Linked DNA regions of Homo sapiens: region 1 is linked to region 2. Evidence: promoter capture Hi-C in 16 types of primary human blood cells and fetal thymus (Javierre and others, 2016). All regions are on one chromosome and are shown on one strand. Each heading gives the region's core, a stretch centred on a gene start or on the middle of the fragment in contact. The rest is flanking DNA. Distances are from core to core; before and after follow the strand shown. Region 1 overlaps ANKRD35 (ankyrin repeat domain 35). Region 2 holds the start of LIX1L (limb and CNS expressed 1 like).

Region 1 (4,884 bases), core at 809-3,308, 79 kb after region 2:
TGGATATTTAGAGCTTTCCTGTGGTTGATTAATAATTTGCCCTGGCTACGTAAACAGTGTTTGAAAATGAGTTACTGGGCTTCCACAGACCCTATTTTTCTTCACCCCTTTCTATAGCCTCTTGTTGAGATTATACCTTATAAAATGCTATGTGCCACCACCAACACCCCACTACTTCCTGTTTTGTTACAAGGATGCCATATATTTGTATGGCTCTTTACAGTTTATAAAGAGATTTTGTATATATTAGCTTGTTTAATAGTCACAGCATGATGAGGTAGTTGTTATTAGCCGTATTTTATAGAAGAGGAAACAGGTTAAAGGTGTTTAATGGCTTACTTTAGGTCACATAGCCGAGAATGTAGCTGAACTAGGTCCCAAACTCAGGCCAGCCAGCGAAATATTTGTCTGGCAGCCTTTACATCAGACCACAGATCTTTGCATCTGTCTCTTCCTTTTCATTCCCTTCTCTGGACAAAACCAGGCTTTTCTGTACTTTCAGCCCTGGGTGTTTTTACATAGCTGTCTCTTTTATGCCCTATAACACTTCAATTATTATAATTACCCTACCACCCACAAAACCCAAGCTGGAATGATAGAACAATGCATGCCCAGGTGTGGCTGTTGTCTAGACAGCTGCTCCCTGCCAGGGAAACTGGGAGGGAGGAGAAGGGGAGCTACCTCTTGCTGCTTCCTCAAACATAACTAGAAACCTCTTTGCCTTTTGGTTGTTGTTGCCATGGAAAGGAGAGAGACGGTCGCCAAAGGGCCTAGATATGATATGGGAAAACAGAAACTCTAGTTTCCTCTTTTAACTGTGGGGCCCAAAGCCAATGAAAAGAGGTGGAATGGTTAGGTATTGGAACTCCTAGCTGTAACCTGAAGCTCGGTGCCTTAATGTACTTCTCAAACAACTGACAACAAAAAGCAGAGCAGCAGGGTTTCAGGGGTGGAGGCGGTGGTGAGAGGCAACATGAGTCCTCAAAAGTGGTCACGTTGGTTCCATTTGCTCCAGCAAGACCTAGAGAGCAAAAGGGAAAGGATTGCTCTGAGGTTGGGCACTGAACAACAACTCTAATCATGATGACAAAAGGACATTTGAAATACTGTGCATTCAGCACTCAAATGATTTTTAATTCAGTGGTCCAGGGTCCTTCTGGCTCAGGGCTGGAAATAACCAGCAATAGTTCTTGGTGGCATATTAGCTGGTTAAGATTTAGCTAGGCCCACCTAAGAAGGACTAAATGATCTAGGATGTGTGACTTGTGGAAGAGAAAAAGGGATGTTCCTTTTCTCTCATTTGGCATCCTAACCATTTGCCTCTTTTCTTTCTCCACACTACCCTCATGCCCTATATTCACACAACCTGTGGCTCTGGACCAGGTGGAGAGATGGAACCGCCATGATCAGAAGCTGCTGGAGGCAGTGCACAGGGGGGATGTGGGACGCGTGGCTGCCCTGGCCTCCAGGAAATCTGCCCGACCCACCAAGCTTGACTCGAATGGCCAGTCCCCGTAAGTCAGTCCTCCTGCCCCTGCCCCTTACATGTGGCTCCCTTTTGAAGCCCCCAAATCCAATATAACATAGGACCAGGGAATGCCTACAACTTCAGAGCTCTTTTCATTGTCTTAATTAGCAAGTATATCAATAGTTTTTTGCTACATATAAGTTCTACACAAAGTGAGGAAAGAAAATATTGTTCCTGAGCTCCATCCATTGCACAACCCAGATTGACACCACTGACTTGTAAAGTACATAAAGCCCATTAAACAAACAGAAAATGAATATATACACTAAGTAGAGTGTTTCTTCATTGCACAAGTAGGAGGGTGTGTATGCATGGGAAATTTGAAATGAAGTGGTAGCATGGGAGTCACATGGCTAGAGGGAGTAGTGATTAAGTCAAAGGAAATGTTATCCCTTGTCTCTACCCAAAGCCTTCGAATGTCCAGCCTTCACTCTGCTCTGGCTGACTCTTTCTGTGACACTTCCACTTCCGCTAAGGTTCTGTGCTCAGAGAGGCAGGTAATTATGTGTTCCCTAGACACCCCTGCAATAGTCTGAGATTCCTTGAGACCTGTAGCTCTTATTTCTTCCTTGCTTTTAGCATCCTTTGTGATTGGAGGCCATATAGACTTCTCTTTCTCAGAAATTCAAGCTAGGGGAGCTTCTTTTCCTGCTTTTAGGATTGGCTTTGGGGTAGGGAGCATAGCAAGAAGGGCTTATCAAGATTCTCCCATTCCTCATCCCTGGTCCCTTTATCCTTTGGCCTCTCGGCCTTGATTCTGGCAGGTTTCATCTGGCAGCCTCCAAAGGCCTGACAGAATGTCTGACTATCCTGCTTGCAAATGGGGCTGACATCAACAGCAAGAATGAGGATGGTGAGTGAGCCGGAGCACTGGGCCACGCTGCTTGCTTGCCCCTGGTACAGCAGCAGTCGGGGGCGGTGCTGGGCCCTGCTGGACATTCCTACTGTGGCCCCTTGCTTCTCTCCTTAGTAAGTTCTGGCCAGCATCCTTCCAGGAGTTCCCCTCCCCGTAAGCTGGGCACACCTCACCCCCACTCCCACCTTCATCACAGGTACCAGGCACTTGGGGAACAGGAATTTCTGGCCCCGTGTGGCTGAAAGCTTCTCTCCCTAATCTCCTGATTATCTGTGCGTCTCTTGCCTTCCCTCCCTGTGAGTCATCAGCATGCATGGGGCCACCTACCCTCCTTCTCCCCTTCTTTCTGTTCCAGGAAGCACTGCCCTACACTTGGCCACCATCTCCTGCCAGCCACAGTGTGTTAAGGTTCTGCTTCAGGTAAGAGCAGTCCCTTGATACCACTCTTATGAAGGGAAGAAGTGGTCCCAGAGTTTTCTAACTTCATTTCATACTTAAAAGGAATAGTTGGCCAAATGTACTCGCCTCATCCCCAATAGGAGGGCTGATAATCATTTGTTTGCCAACATTTATTTAACTACTATGTGCAGGCACCATGTTTGATAGTGCCTTTGAGGGCAGGTTATAAAGCAGAGTTGCCAGGCACTATCGATTTTGTCATTAGCAGAGCCACTGCAGAGACTTCCTGCTATGATGAGGGGCAAGAGGAAGGAGGACAGAGATGTTCAAATTAAACCAAAGCCCTACTGTCTGTTTCTGAAGAGTTTATAGTCTAGTAGTATAAAGAGAAATATACATGTAAAATGACATGTGGATCATTTATAAATGAGTCTCCAAAAGCACAAAAGGCAGTTACTGGCCGGGTGCGGTGGCTCATGCCTGTAATCCCAGACTTTGGGAGATGGAGGTGGGCAGATCACAAGATCAGGAGATCGAGACCATCCTGGCTAACACAGTGAAACCCCATCTCTAATAAAAATACAAAAGATTAGCTGGGTGTGGTGGCACGTGCCTGTAGTCCCAGTTACTCGGGAGGCTGAGGCAGGAGAATCGCTTCAACCCAGGAGGCGGAGGTTGCAGTGATCCAAGATCGCACCACTGCACTCCAGTCTGGGCAACAGAGAGAGACTCTGTCTCAAAAAAAAAAAAAAAAATCAGTTATCTTAACCGGCCATCAGGCAAATGGATGTTCTACTTTCGTTCTTCCTAATCCTTTCCAAATTTCACAATTATGTTTCTAAAGTACCAGCCACGGGGACATTGGGTGTCATTTTCCCTAACACGTTTATTACCATCTGATTTTTCTTAGCCCCTTGGTTTAGAAACCAGGGCTGATATTCAAGGCTGCCTATCATCAGCAATGGATGAACTGGGCTTGCCTAGTAGATAGCCTTCTCCAAAGTGGACCTCCTGCCCCTCCTCATATTACCATGGAAATTGGTGACCCAATGGGGGTATGGGATGAGGATGTTAACACCAAGCTCCATGCTGCTTCCCTTTGTGGCCATTTGCAGCATGGTGCTAATGAAGATGCTGTGGATGCAGAAAACCGTAGTCCATTGCACTGGGCAGGTGTGTGCAGGGGACTCATGGGAACAGGGCTGCAGAGACTACAGGGTGGGAAAGGGGAGGCGTGAGGAGGGAAGGGCAGCCAGGGCCAACCAATGAAATGGTCGGAGGGGATGTTGGGTCATAGTCTGAGTAGGCTTTCTTCATGCTTCCCCTTAACCCAAACATCTTCTCCCCAGCCTCCTCTGGCTGTGCCTCAAGTGTGCTCCTGCTGTGTGACCACGAAGCCTTCCTGGACGTGTTGGATAATGTGAGTGTCAGATGGGCAAGTGGGCAGTGTCCTACACAGAAGGGCTGCTGCTGTCTCTCAGCTTGACTGGCCAACTTCCACGACCTAGGGCTGTGTTAGCACCACCCTTCTCTTCCTTCTCCTCCTGCTTCTCCTCTTCTTCCTCACAGAGAGGTTAAGCCTTATCTTCTGGAGAGCTTCTAACCCTCCAAAAGGGAGTGTTCAGACCCAAGATCTGGGCTTTTATTTTTTTTGGACAGGTGTGAGGGGAGGGGAGCCGGTAGGATTGTCAAGCCTCTGCAGTCCCTGGCTGCTCATGAACCTCTTCCTACAATCTGTGCAGGATGGACGTACACCCCTGATGATCGCATCGCTGGGTGGGCACGCAGCTATCTGCTCACAGCTGCTGCAGCGAGGCGCCCGAGTTAATGTTACAGACAAGAATGACAAGTGAGCCCCCCTCGTCTATGCACCCCAATTCCCATGCCTGACCAATTTAGAAAGAAGCCAGTGGGCAACGTGTGTGTGTGTGTGTTTGTGTGTGTTGGGGAAGAAGTCAGGTTGGTCTTTGTGTTCTTGGGAACCTCATTCCTTCCCAGTGGAGGTTCTGAAGAGCTCTGCCTGCTGCCACCACCATCTTCATAGATAGATGACCCCAGAAGTAGAATCGACACTTCTGGACCCGTTGGCTGAATTTACTGG
Region 2 (4,680 bases), core at 1,387-3,886:
ACCCTCCCTCCAGCCGGCTCGGCTCCCTCTCCGCGCCAGTCCCAGGAGAGTCTGCCAGGGGCAGTATCTCCGCTAAGCGGAAGGAGGCGGAGTCCGGGGCTGCTGGAGCGGAGGGGCTCGGGGACGTTGCTCCTGGACCACATCTCGCAAACGCGGCCGGGTTTCCTACCCCCTCTCAACGTCAGTCCCCACCCTCCCATCCCTGACATTCGCCCACAACCCGGAGGTCGGGCGCCTTCGTTGCCTGCCCCTCCTTATGCCGGGGCGCCAGGCTCTCCCAGGACCAAGCGCAAATTGGTGAGACGCCACTCCATGCAGACTGAGCAGATCCGCCTGCTGGGGGGCTTCCAGAGTCTAGGTGGGCCTGGGGAGCCAGGGCGCTGAGAGGAGTGAGAGGAGCCAAGGAGGGTGGGGATTAGGACCTTAATGGGATAGGTGGGAGAACCAGCTCACACACACACCACGAACAAAGGGATCTCTTGCATGTGCTCATGGGTGCACAGTGCACCCACACATGGTTAAACATGTGTCCATAAGCACAGTACTCTTATTAGCAAGAAAGAATAAGTACTCTATTTACTGGGTATATACACACATGTATTCATGCCCTGGTCATTTCACATGCATATGGGATTACTTGTGTACCTACAGGCACAGCATATCAATAAACACACAGGGCTAGGGTCCCAAACTCTCTTGCATTTGTTCAGAAGCAGTAGGGAACCCTTACTTATGGGCAGTCTCCGATGTCTTTGCCCTCCTGCAGAAGCAATCCCTTGCTTTCCATGTATGCCCTGAAACACAGCCTATCATGATTTTGCACACTCTCTCCGTGGACATCCCAGCCCATTCTGCAGGTCTTGCTTCTTTCTCCAGGCCTGGCTCCTTATTCACACCCTGCTTCTAACCCCAACCACTTTTCAGGATATCTTTTTCACTCTTCTTGGGGGTTCCTGCAGCAACCCCCAGCCTCAGTTCTGCTGCTGTCTTTACTGCTCTCAACTTCACTTCTCAACTTCCTGCTTTTTATTCCCACCCTGTTCCTCCAACAACTACAACAGATTGTCTCATTTTCCCAGGGGGTGGGTCATGGGCTCTAAGCTGCTCTTCTGTCTGTCTGAGCTTATGAACACCCCCACAGGTAGAAGTGGGGAGAAACCCTAAATCACTCCTCTCTCCACTTGACATATCAAATAAATGTGTTCAGAAGTCTCTGTTTTGTCACTTCTGCCTGGAGGTGTGGGTATGGGGAATGAGGAATGGGGAGGGAGGGTAACACTAACTTATAGCTATAATTATCCAAGGGATACTTAGCTGTTCCAGCCACCTTCTTTCCAAGAAACCAACTTTTCTATAGAGAAAAGGCAAGTGTCCTGTGTCCTGAAGATTTTAAGGCATTTGACAGGATTTCATTTCCTCCAGTTTCCTCTATGTCCAACCTTGAATTCTTTAAGGTTCCTACAAAGAGTTCCTCCCTCCATCATCAGCAGATATATCCCAGTAGATTAACTGTCTCCTTTTGAAACTTCCTATTTCTTGACTACTCACAGTTTTTATTCAGGGTCTAATTTTCATTTCACCAAGTGTGTTTCTTCTATTTTCTTCTACTTCTGGCCTCTATTTCCCCATCTTTGATTTCTGAGCCACTGTAGGAGAGATGGGGGGAAGCAGTTAATATAATCTCACCTAAGCAAAAATGGCCTGGTGACCACATGATAAAGGGTATGTAGAGTGTGTGTGTGTGCATGTGTGCAAGTGTGTGTGTGTGTGCAAAGTAATCAGAGGAACCCAGTCTGACATATTATACCAACAAGGGTAATTTTCTTAATTCCCCCAACTGGACTTCTCAGTTTGCTAATTTTCTGCATGTATCCTAACTCTTTCTCACTCTAATGGGAGGCAAAGAGACTTGCCCATCCCACTCTCTCTTATTCCCTTCCTCTACTTAGAATAAGTGAACTCAGAAATTTACCCAACAATGTGGCATAGTAAAAAGATAAAAATATTGGGAATCAGAACACCTATGCTTAAACTCTGAATTCCACTTTGCCATCTCTTAGCTATTTAATTTTGGCCATTTTTCTAGCTTCCCTCAGCATCTGTTTCCTTATCCCTAAAATAACAAAATCTAGTTAGTGATTGTGATTGTAAATAAGACATGCACTACAGTACATTGCATAGTTTATGTTCATTAAATGTCAGTATCTTTCTTGCCTTAGCTCCACCACCAATTGCATATGATGTTGGACAAGTCGAATTACTTCTCTGAGCCACAATATCCTCACCTGCAATCTGTGAAATGAAATGGTAGGACAAAATGATCTCTACTCTGTCTGCAATCCTCCCCAATCTTGCATCTAGGCCCATTTTTTTCTTCAAGCCCAGCCCCAAGATTCTGTCCTGCTTTCTAGTGCTTGCCACAGGACTCCCAAAGACGCGCCGAAGCTCTGCGTCTGCCTTTCAGAGGATACGCTTTTTCTCTTTGCAATTGGTTCTGAGAATCCCCACCCTCCTCAATAATTTGCCTATGGCGGAGCAGGAGCCCTCCAGCTCCCGCCCCATCACTGGTGATTGGCATGGGACCTAGCTCGTCCCCGCCCCCACTTGACTGAAGGTTCGGCCCTGGCACCGCCCTGAGTCCCCAGGCGCTAGCTGACTGGGGTGGTTGGGACCGTTAGCTCGGCAGGCTGGCAGGCTCCGGGGCGCTACTCCATTGGCGGCCGGGATGGAGACTATGCGAGCGCAGCGGCTGCAGCCTGGTGTGGGCACCAGCGGGAGGGGCACTCTCCGAGCGCTGCGGCCCGGAGTGACTGGGGCCGCGGCCGCCACCGCCACACCCCCTGCGGGCCCCCCGCCTGCCCCGCCGCCTCCCGCACCGCCCCCGCCGCCGCTGCTCCTGTCTGGGGCCCCAGGACTACCCCTGCCCCCCGGCGCCGCCGGCAGCCCGGCAGTGCTGCGAGAGGCCGTGGAGGCCGTGGTGAGGAGCTTCGCCAAGCACACGCAGGGCTATGGCCGAGGTGAGTCTGCGGGTCTGGCCTCCTGCGCGACACCCTCTGTAAGGGAGCCTTGCTCCCACAGTCCTCCGGATCGCTTTTCCTGGCGTGGAGCCCTCACATGCATTTCCTTTTGGGGAGTTTCCTTCTGGGCTACGCACACGCACAGACGCACACACTCATACACACGTTTAAGCCTCCTACCTCCTCCCCTTTACTGAGTTATTAATATATTCTCCAGGGACTCTTTTTCAGATACAATCCTCTTTTCTTCCTAAGCTTTTCTCCTTTAGAAATGGAATTCCTCCTCCAGCTTAATACCTTAACATCTCTCTGCCTTTGAGAACCAGTCCTCATTGTGTGGGATCCTGTCTTTTATTTCAGATCCAATTTCTCATCCATACCCTCTCAGTCTTTCCTCTGTGATCTCTGCAATTCCTGGACTCACCTGTTAATTTGCTCCAGCCCCTTAACCTTGACTGTTAAATTCTTTACTTACTTACCTTCACTCTGAAATTTCAGTGCAACTTCAGATTTACTGGGGAACTAGGTAGTGCCTTCACAAGTCACTCATAGTAATTGTGTATTTAAATCCGGACCTGTACCACTGAACTCACAGCAGCTTCCTGTGGCTCAGTACCTTACTTTGGTATCTTTTTTAGTATGGAGACTCACAACTCCAGCCTTTCTGTCTGGCTGTGTTTTCCTGGCCCTTGCCCAGGAACTGAGGATAAATCCCAGGCCTTGGCTCTTTCAATGTTAAATTCTGTGGAAATGTGCCAGGTTAGAAACTCTATTTCAGTTAGAAAACTTCGTTAATTTCTGGAAAGAGGGATGTGAGGGTTTTCTTTGTTGTTTTCGTTTAACTAGGGTAGTTTCCTGTCTGAGTTTGAGTTCCAGATTTATAGTGTAAGTAATAAGGAATATATAGTGAAGGGTGTGGAATACAGAATTTAAGCCTGGAATTTACAAGACATCCCTTCTGTCTGCTTGGCCAGGTCCTGCCTGACCTGGAAGTGACTATATCTTTAACTTTCTGTTTAACAATAATACAGAGAAAAGTTACAGGGCTTTTCTGTAGATTTTCTTTTTTTAAGAAAGTTTAGTGAAAAGAGCACACACAGGCTTTGGAGATCTTTGTCACTTACCAGCCAAATCTTTGGGGAAGGGACTTAATTTCACTGAGCTTCAGTTTCTTCAAGGGTTACAATATGGATTGACTGAGACATTGCAAATGACATATAACCTAAAAATGATTATTATCTCAAATTTGTTGGTTCATAGTTCCTTAAGTAGAACATGCTTCACTTTTTCCCACTCTTAAATCCTAATAATGTAAACCCAAAAATTCCTATGAAAACAGATTTTTAGAGCCATTTTGCTATATGTGCCTAATGATTCATTCATCATCAATTTCCCTTTGTTCTTCATACAATTTGAACTCCTATTATAAGACAGGAACTCTGCTAGGTGCTGGGGATACAAATGGATGAATCTGAAACTCATGAGGAAATACTATTTTTCCAATGTAATCCCAAGATTTAACAAGGCTATGTGATGGAACTGCTATTAGCTACTATCCTGCTGCTTCAAGTCTCTAAGTCAAGATCAAGGGAAGGTCTTTGCCTCTGGGCACAGGAGTAGCCTAGAGTGGTCACACTAAATCTGAAGCCTTCCTCTTGGCAAC

The links. The method cuts DNA at HindIII sites, captures the fragments that hold promoters and counts their contacts. A CHiCAGO score of 5 or more calls a contact.
Region 1: a fragment that was not itself captured here is called in contact with the fragment with the promoter of LIX1L in region 2 in 2 of 17 cell types (erythroblasts and monocytes); the score reaches 9.4 in erythroblasts.

What each region holds. Positions count from the first base shown.
Region 1 is chr1:145,875,888-145,880,771 of GRCh38, reverse strand. ANKRD35 (ankyrin repeat domain 35) reads left to right here. Exons shown (of 14, transcript NM_144698.5): 2 at 1,384-1,514; 3 at 2,293-2,381; 4 at 2,740-2,804; 5 at 3,899-3,956; 6 at 4,133-4,203; 7 at 4,526-4,632. Among named protein-coding and RNA genes, the nearest start is that of ANKRD35, 7.5 kb to the left of the region's middle. RefSeq lists an enhancer at 1,941-2,924. The HindIII fragment of the contact is 1,138 bases long and covers 1,490-2,627 here.
Region 2 is chr1:145,955,973-145,960,652 of GRCh38, reverse strand. LIX1L (limb and CNS expressed 1 like) reads left to right here and starts at 2,636. Exons shown (of 6, transcript NM_153713.3): 1 at 2,636-3,017. The coding sequence starts at 2,726. It overlaps ANKRD34A (ankyrin repeat domain 34A), which reads left to right. Exons shown (of 4, transcript NM_001039888.4): 4 at 1-1,212. The coding sequence ends at 384. RefSeq lists an enhancer at 85-203 and silencers at 2,582-2,671, 2,702-2,981. The HindIII fragment of the contact is 5,249 bases long and covers 1-3,270 here.